Regions from separate parts of the Homo sapiens genome. Here region 2 is linked to region 1. The links are contacts of gene promoters, found by promoter capture Hi-C in blood cells and fetal thymus (Javierre and others, 2016). All regions are on one chromosome and are shown on one strand. Each heading gives the region's core, a stretch centred on a gene start or on the middle of the fragment in contact. The rest is flanking DNA. Distances are from core to core; before and after follow the strand shown.

Region 1 (4,150 bases), core at 621-3,120:
CAATTTCTCACACGGTAATTTTTTTAATTTCCATTGCTAAGTTTTTAAGGTTGCCAGGTTTAGCAAATAAGGATACAGAATGCCCACTTAAATTTGAAATTAAGGTAAATTATGAATTGTTTAATGCATGTCTCATGCCATATGTGAGTTATACTAAAAAAGTATTCCTTTTTTTCTGAAATTTAAATTTAACTGGGTATCCTGTATTTTATCTGGCAGCCCTATAAGCATATTAGAATCTTTCCTATTTTGCCTAGATAATATCTCTAAAGTCACTTAATCATTTTTGTCATTGGATTCTTTGTGTGTGTGTGTGTGTGTGTGTGTGTGTGTCCAAATTTGAAATATAAGGCCCTGCAAAGACTTTAGCATTTCAGATATTCAAGGAGATGCTGAAACCATGGCCTCATGCTCTTCACCTTAACTTCAGTCATAGGGCTGAAGTTCTGCATGGGCGTTCCAGTAGATAAATCCCATGGGGAGGCAGCATTAATTGACACCAGCCAGACCCAGATTCCATTCCATACCATCCTGAAAACATGGCTCCATAGAGTTATGCGTTGCCTTGATTTTGTAACACCTTCATTTCTTAAAAACACTTGGATCCTTTTTTTAATACAATGAGTTAAAATTATTTAGATTTCAAAATTTGGAAACACCTTTTAGTAAAGTGAAAGCACCCTGGGCTTTTTGTAAATTTAGAGATGAGGATGCAGAAATTTCTGCATTATTTATTATTTGTATTAGCAGGAAACTCCCAAAAGAAGAAAACTCATCTAATGGGGTTGAGAGGATAAGTGCTTAGCAAGGGCTGGGTAGCCTTCTGCCCTAGTGTTCCCCTAATGCCCTACAGCTTGTGTTGCAGACCATTCTAATTTCACTCACACTTTTCTAATCCCCCCAATTAAAATTACCCAAAGGAATTACTTCTTTGCTCTCAAAGAGAAAAAAATGCAATATCCCTTTTGAGACATAAATAATAATAAGCAGGGGCTGGGTGCGGTGGCTCACGCCTGTCATCCCAGCCGTTGGGGAGGCCGAGTCGGGTGAATCACAAGGTCAAGAGTTTGAGACCAGCCTAGCCAACAGGGTGAAACCCTGTCTCTACTAAAAATACAAAACGTTGGCTGGGTGCGGTGGCTCACGCCTGTAATCTCAGCACTTTGAGAGGCTAAAGTGGGCAAATCATGAGGTCAGGAGTTCGAGACCAGCCTGGCCAACATGGGGGAACCCTGTCTCTACTAAAATACAAAAAATTAGCCAGCCGTAGTAGTGTGTGCCTGTAATCCCAGCTACTTGGGAGGCCGAGGCAGGAGAATTGCTTGAACCCAGGAGGCAGAGGTTGCAGTGAGCAGAGATCGCACTACTGCACTCCAGCCCGGGCAACAGAGTGAGACTCTGTCTCAAAAAAAAAAAAAAAACACCATTAGCCAGGTGTGGTGACAGGCGCCTATAATCCCAGCTACTTGGGAGGCTGAGGCAGGAGAATTGCTTAAACCCGGGAAGCGGAGGTTGCAGTGAGCCAAGATCGCGCCATTGCACTCCAGCCTGGGTGACAGAGCAAGTGTCTGTCTCAAAAATAATAATAATAGTAACAAGCAGGAACAACAGCAGCAAAAAAACATGAGATGGAACACTCCCTTACCTGCCCACTGTCCCATTGACCGCAAGAAAGACTTTGGCAAAACTTTCCAGTAGTTCAGTAAAACACATCTGGAGAATCTCACGCACTTCGCCAGGCAGGCCAGGCACACCAGCAGCCCTGTGAGGATGAAGAACTGTTCCAGGACGTCCCCCATGGCTGCACTCAACAGACTGTTTCAGCCCTGGCCGTGGCTCTCTGTGTATGCCTCCTGGGACCACGCTGCTCTGGAGACCTCCAGATCTTCTTCCAGGAGTCACTGGACGTGTTCCATCAAGTCAGGGGCATCTAGATTAAAGTAACTTCTTTACATAATCCTCTGACTCACAGGCCTTTGAATAAGGCTTTTGTTACTGTGGAGGAGCTGGTGAAAAAGTAAAAGGTGGACATGAAGGGAAAAAAACAAAGCCTGGACAAATATAAAATGGCAGCCCACAGTTCTCTCCCTGAATTTGGGAAAGTTAAAAAGGATGCAGAATCCAAGGCAATTATTCATACATTTAGCACTATGTATTGACTGCCTACCAGGTGGAGTCCCCTCTTGAAGGCATTAGGAAGTTAATAGTGACCACAGAGGGTCTCTCTGGTTTGGAGCTTAGATTCTGGTAGCAGGGACAGATGATGAGCAGATAAATAAGATAACATCAGATGGGGCAGTGGCTCACGCCCATAATCCCAACATTTTGGGAAGCCAAGGCAGGCGGGTCACATGAAGTCAAGAGTTCAAGACCAGCCTGGCCAACATGGTGAAACCTCATCTCTACTTAAAATACAAAAATTAGCCAGGCCTGGTGGTGGGCACCTGTAATCCCAGCTACTTGGGAGGCTGAGGCAGGAGAATCACTTGAACTTGGGAGGCGGAGGTTGCAGTGAGCCAAGATCACGCCATTGCACTCCAGCCTGGGTGACAGAGTGAGATTCTGTCTCAAAAAAAAAAAAAAGATAACATCAGTGCTATGAAAAAGCACTATTGAATGATGTGTTTGAGTAGCTACTCAGGGAATGCTTCAGAGAGGGTGTTCAGGAAGGAATTCCATGAAGAGGTGGCATTTTTAGTTGAAATTTGAATGAAAAGGAGCCAGCTCCGCAAAGATGAGTTTCCCCCTCCAGGCTAATGGAACGGCTAGTACAATGCCTGAAGTGAGAAAAATCCACGTATTTGAGGAATAAGAACTAGGACAGGACAGGCATGGTGGCTCACGCCTGTAATCCCAGCACTTTGGGAGGCCGAGGCAGGCGGATCACAAGGTCAGGAGATTGAGACCTACTAAAAATACAATAATTAGCTGGGTGTGGTGGAGCATGCCTGTAATCTTAACTACTTCGGAGGCTGAGGCAGGAGAATCGCTTGAACCTGGGAGGTGGAAGTTGCAGTGAGCTGAGATTGTGCCACTGCACTCCAGTCTGGGCGACAGAGCAAGACTCCATCTCAAAAAAAAAAAAAACACTAGGACAACACAGCAGAGGGACTGGCCACAGAGAGTAAGGGAGGAAAAGGCCAGAGCAGGAGGGAGGAGCCATGCCCTACGGGTGAGTGTGGACTTTCAGAGCAACCAGAAGCCATTGCACAGATTTAGGAAACAGAGTTCTATACTCTGAATTATGCTTTTAAAAGGCCACTGGATGCTGAGGGAAGATGTCCTTCTGGGGGTGGGATGGAGGGTGGGTGTGACAACTGAAGCAAGGGCAGCCAGGATACTGAAGTCATCCCTGCAGAGGCCACAGGATCAGTCCTTGGCCTTCTCTCATTTCTGCCTGTGCTCACTCTCAGCTCACTCTGTGCTGCAATCAACAGCCTTGCGCTCACCCTAGAAGCAGAATTGCTGGCCAGAACATAGATTCATACGTCTTTATGCTAGATATTGTCAGATTTGCCTTCATTTTGCATTCACGCCAACAACACGTGAGCATGTTCGTTTTCCCACTGCCTTAGCAGTAAAGCATGTTGTCAAGCTTTGGGACTTTTGCCACCCAGTAGGTAAGAAGTAGCATCCAATGTTGTTTTAAGTTTAAATTATCTTATCAGCCAGGTTGGAGAGATTTTCTTAAGCCTAAGAGCTATTTTCACTGTTTTCTTTGTGAATTTTCTCTCTCCTGCCCGTTTTTCTATGTGGTTTTTGGTCTTTCCCTTCTCTGTATTTAGAGATGGTTTCAGGACTCTGATTAGTCAGAAATTCGACCTGCTCACTCTGTCCTTCATGGTCATTGATTATCTCTTCAGGTGTGTCTGATCATTGTTAAGTCAGCCCATTGTGGTTTTTATTTTAATGACCTTAACTTCATTTCTAAAAGTTCCTTTTCTTTTTTGCAAAACTGAGGCTTTTCTTCTTATGGTTCTCTGCTCCATGCAGATATTTTTAATTTTGACTTTCTTTACCTCAGCATAATTGTCTTATGATCTGGCTTTAACAATTCCAGTACCTACATCAGCCTTTCTGTTGCTGTCTCCTCTCTCTGGTAGGTCTCACTCATGGTGCCCTGTTTCCTTGTGTGCTTGATAATTTTCAC
Region 2 (4,079 bases), core at 290-2,789, 1.6 Mb before region 1:
GAAGGTCACACAACCATAGCAACCTTGATGTTCGAGAGAGCCTGAGCATAAACACCACTCCTCTGTTAGATCTTTTCATCTGTGCTTTCATTTCCATGGGTAGTATTCGTTGCCTTTTTGGAGGTGAGAGCTGGGGGAGGAGAGACGTTGCCATTTTTCTAGAGGAATGTCTTTAACAAGTTGTAAGAGTTGTCTTATCTGAGGAAGAGGGCGATAAAGTTGCTTTGAATGTGAATGCTGGTGGCTGGCCAGGCCCCCTAACTAGCAAGTGATTTGATAACTTCCAGCATGGACTTCAATTCATAGATCACAACACGTCAGAGACCTTATCAGGGCTATGGTTGGTCTAACTCCACAGGTGTGAAAGATCGGGGTAGTTATTCCTCCTGAGGATCTTACATGGAATCCTTTTTTTTTTTCAAAACTGTATCACCTAAGTTTCTGGTGTATCACAAGACATGCCCATAGCAAAGGTAAACTTGATGGTTGATGCTCTTTTTTTCATGCTTAGCACACACTAGAGAAATATATCTGCTCATGAATATGTAAATAATTTTTATTTAAAGTCTAACTGGCTTGAAAGAAAATTCTTGAATCACCTCTTGGTGTTCTAGGAATTCAATATTTCTCAGTGCAAATATCAAACTCCTACTCAGATGCACCAAATGGAGACTTGGCTGGTTTTAAAGCATCTATTTACTCAGAAGAATAGAGCCCACGCACAGGGAAAATGTCCCTTCTTCTACTGATGTCCCAAATGCCTCTTTGCTTAAAGATTGCTTAAGAGGGATGCCAATGTAGTTAATGCAGCTCTATAGTGAGGAGTGAACCCAGTCCAGCTCCATATTACATTTTTGTGTTTCATAATATTATAAGGCTCTTAGCAAGGAGGGGAAAGAACCAATTCAGAGAAAAAGAGCTTATGCCCTCTGGAATGAATAAGATGCCAAGATGGCAGATAGTACCAGATAGTTCATCTTAATGCTTTTTTTTTTTGTTTTTTTTTTGAGATGGAGTCTCACCCTGTTGCCCAGGCTGGAGTGCAATGGCATGATCTTGGCTCACTGCAACCTCCCCCTCCGGGGTTGAAATGATTCTCCTGCCTCAGCCTCCTGAGTAGCTGGGATTACAGGCACCCGCCATCATGACCAGCTAATTTTTGTATTTTTAGTAGAGACAGGGTTTCACCATGTTGGCCAGGCTGGTGTCGAACTACTGACCTCGTGATCCGCCCACCTTGGGCTCCCAAAGTGCTGGGATTACAGGCATGAGCCACCCTGCCCGGACTAATGCCTTTTTAACAATGTCTGTGTGTACCTTTCTTTTTTCTTGTAACCTGTGTTCTCAAGACAGAGAGCAAAACAGCAGCTTAACGTTTTCTACTAACAGAAAAATCATAGTAACCAAGTGTACCTGAAAGCTTATTAATTTTCCTGGCCAGCCACCTTTACCTTGATTCCTTTTATTGCATTAAAAATCGAGACTAATTAAGGCAACTGTTGCTGCAGCAGGCCAAATTAGGTTTTTCTTAGAGCTCTCCCTTCATCTCACAGAATGATGTCATTAAGTGTGCAGCCTGTGAAATGCTAAGGACAGCCTGTTTCCACCGTGACATGGGTCACTCAGGAATGCGAGGGAAGTACACCACTGAATGTCATAAAGCTTTAAAGAGTTACAATAACACCTACACTGCAGGCCAAGCAGAATATGGGCATTCACTTCTCTTTGTAAACAGACTCTGTGAAGCCAGAGGGAAGGTAGGCGGGAAGTGATGCGGGAAATGATGGCATGAAGGCTCTGCATAGCTGCTCTGCAGGCTACTTGGTCTATGGGCCTCTTGATTGGCCAGTCACCCAGAGGCTTTACATAGAACTGGGAATTGGGACCACCAAATTGCACAGCTTCTTGGCAGGCCTGTTTGGCCACAGGCAGCTCTTGAATCACAGGGCTATATTATATGGCCACTTGATACCTGCTTATGATTAAGCAAGCTCCAGTGTGCTTTCACAATAGAGATATATTAGTCAAATAAGTTTACTTCATTTTTTTCCATGAGCCCTGGGATTTGAAGAGTTAGATTACAGTCCACTCACCAAGATTCTTTCATACAGATGGTTTTCTTATAGTGGAGTAGCCCATTGCCTTCTCAAGTGAAAACTATTTAGTCGATCCCCTCTGGTTTGTTGTTTGCATGTGTCTAGGTAGTCTCTGAGTCCTGATCCTTAACCAGACATAAGCATTTGTGTTGACATTGATCAAAAAACACTACTATTGCCAACTACTCAGCATGTGTTTCTAATACCTACTATGTATAAGGCATAGTTCTAGATGCTATGAGCTAGACATTGATCAGAAGCCTGTAAGACCTGTTCTCAAGAAGACAGGTTAAATATACATTAAAGTAATTCAGAATACATGACAGTCTTCGAAAAGGGCAAAGAAAAGACAGGAGTTTAAATTATAATTGGAAGAAGAATGTGAAGGGAAACAGAGGTCAAGAGAGATAAGTATTGTTTGGAAAGATCAGGAATGATGTGAAATTCAGATAGTGGAAAATGTAAAATTTAAGGAGGGATAAGCAGAGAAAAGGGACAAGCCAGAGGGAACAGCTAAAGACTAGTTTGATGAGAAGAAGAAGGTTACCCATGTTTCACTTGTACACTGTCTTAGGTGGTAAGCTAAGGAATTTAAACTTGTCTTTAAAAAAAAAACAAAATCACTTTATTGAGGTATGATTGACATATAAAAAGCTGTGTCTACTTAATGTATACATCTCGATAAGTTTGGGCATAAGTATACCCCTATGAAGCAATCACCACCATCAAGGAGATATTTATGTCCATTAACTTTTTTTTATAGACAGTGGGGAGCCATAGAATGTTCTTAACAAGGGACTTATATCATTTAGGGATTTTTTTTTTTTTTTTTTTTTTGGTGAGGCAGAGTCTTGCTCTGTCACCCAGGCTGGAGTGCAGTGGCGCGATCTCGGCTCACTGCAAGCTCCGCCTCCCAGGTTCACGCCATTCTCCTGCCTCAGACTCCCAAGTAGTTGGGACTACAGGCGTCCGCCACCACATTTGGCTAATTTTTTTTTTTTGTATTTTTTGTGGAGACGGGGTTTCACCATGTTAGCCAGGAAGGTCTCGATCTCCTGACCTCGTGATCCGCCCACCTCAGCCTCCCAATGTGCTGAGATTACAGGCGTGAGCCACCGCACCCGGCCCATTTAAGGCTATTTTATCATAAGCAGCAGAGAAGCCAATTTGACCTGGCTTAAACAACAAAGGAAGTTTCTTGGCTTACACAATAGAAATCTCTACAGACAGATATTGGCCTCAGGTAAGGTTTGATCTAGCAATCCAAACAAGAACTCCCGGACACTAGTTCCTCTCTGCCTCAGCTTCATCCTTAGATACCACATTGTCCCTACCTGCCATCCCCATCCTCTTCTAGGCAGCTCCTGGCTCTCCATGTGTGGCAGAAAATGGCTGCAGTAACTCCAGGCCTCAGATCTCCCTATACCTTCTGGAGGAAGAGCAAGCCTCTTTCCTGGTAGCATCTCTGGAAGAGGAGGAAGCTTGTCTTTCCCAGAGGCTTCAAATGGCTCCTGTGTCTTCATGGATCTGAATGGGTTACTGATTTATCTGGGAATCAGTGGAGGATGTAAGTAAGTACATGGGAAAAGCTGATTGGTTTAAGCCAACCACAGTCCACCCGTAGAGCAGGAGAGGTGGGTGAATCCCTCCCAAGCCACAGGGCTAGAATGAGAAAGGATAGATTTCCTGAAGGAATCTGTAAGTAGTGTTAGGAAGGGAGAATGGCCCTTGGGTGGCCAAAGAGTGACACATGTTTACTAGAGGTAATAATAAGACAAAGGTAGGTAGGTTTATGTGACAGTCAAGACCAGCTTATCAAGCCATATAATTGTAAAGGTATGAACTAACCTCTACTGACACTGACTACGTAGTCAGTATCAACCTAAAAAAAAAAAAGACACCAGAAAATTGTCTCTAAATATGTTGGGTTTACTCAAGAATAGAAGTAAGGATTATAGACTGGAATGCATGGAATGGCAAGCC

Evidence for each region. Contacts are between HindIII fragments. The CHiCAGO score rates a contact against its expected background, and 5 or more counts as called.
Region 2: a fragment that was not itself captured here is called in contact with the fragment with the promoter of HSD17B3 in region 1 in 1 of 17 cell types (total CD8 T cells); the score reaches 5.8 in total CD8 T cells.

The regions. Positions count from the first base shown.
Region 1 is chr9:96,300,306-96,304,455 of GRCh38, forward strand. It overlaps HSD17B3 (hydroxysteroid 17-beta dehydrogenase 3), which reads right to left and starts at 1,871. Exons shown (of 11, transcript NM_000197.2): 1 at 1,646-1,871. The coding sequence starts at 1,799. It overlaps SLC35D2-HSD17B3 (SLC35D2-HSD17B3 readthrough), which reads right to left. Exons shown (of 26, transcript NR_182427.1): 16 at 1,646-2,006. The HindIII fragment of the contact is 6,593 bases long and covers 1-3,593 here.
Region 2 is chr9:94,696,511-94,700,589 of GRCh38, forward strand. LOC107987101 (a long non-coding RNA gene) reads right to left here and starts at 3,649. Exons shown (of 4, transcript XR_001746846.1): 1 at 3,431-3,649. The HindIII fragment of the contact is 242 bases long and covers 1,419-1,660 here.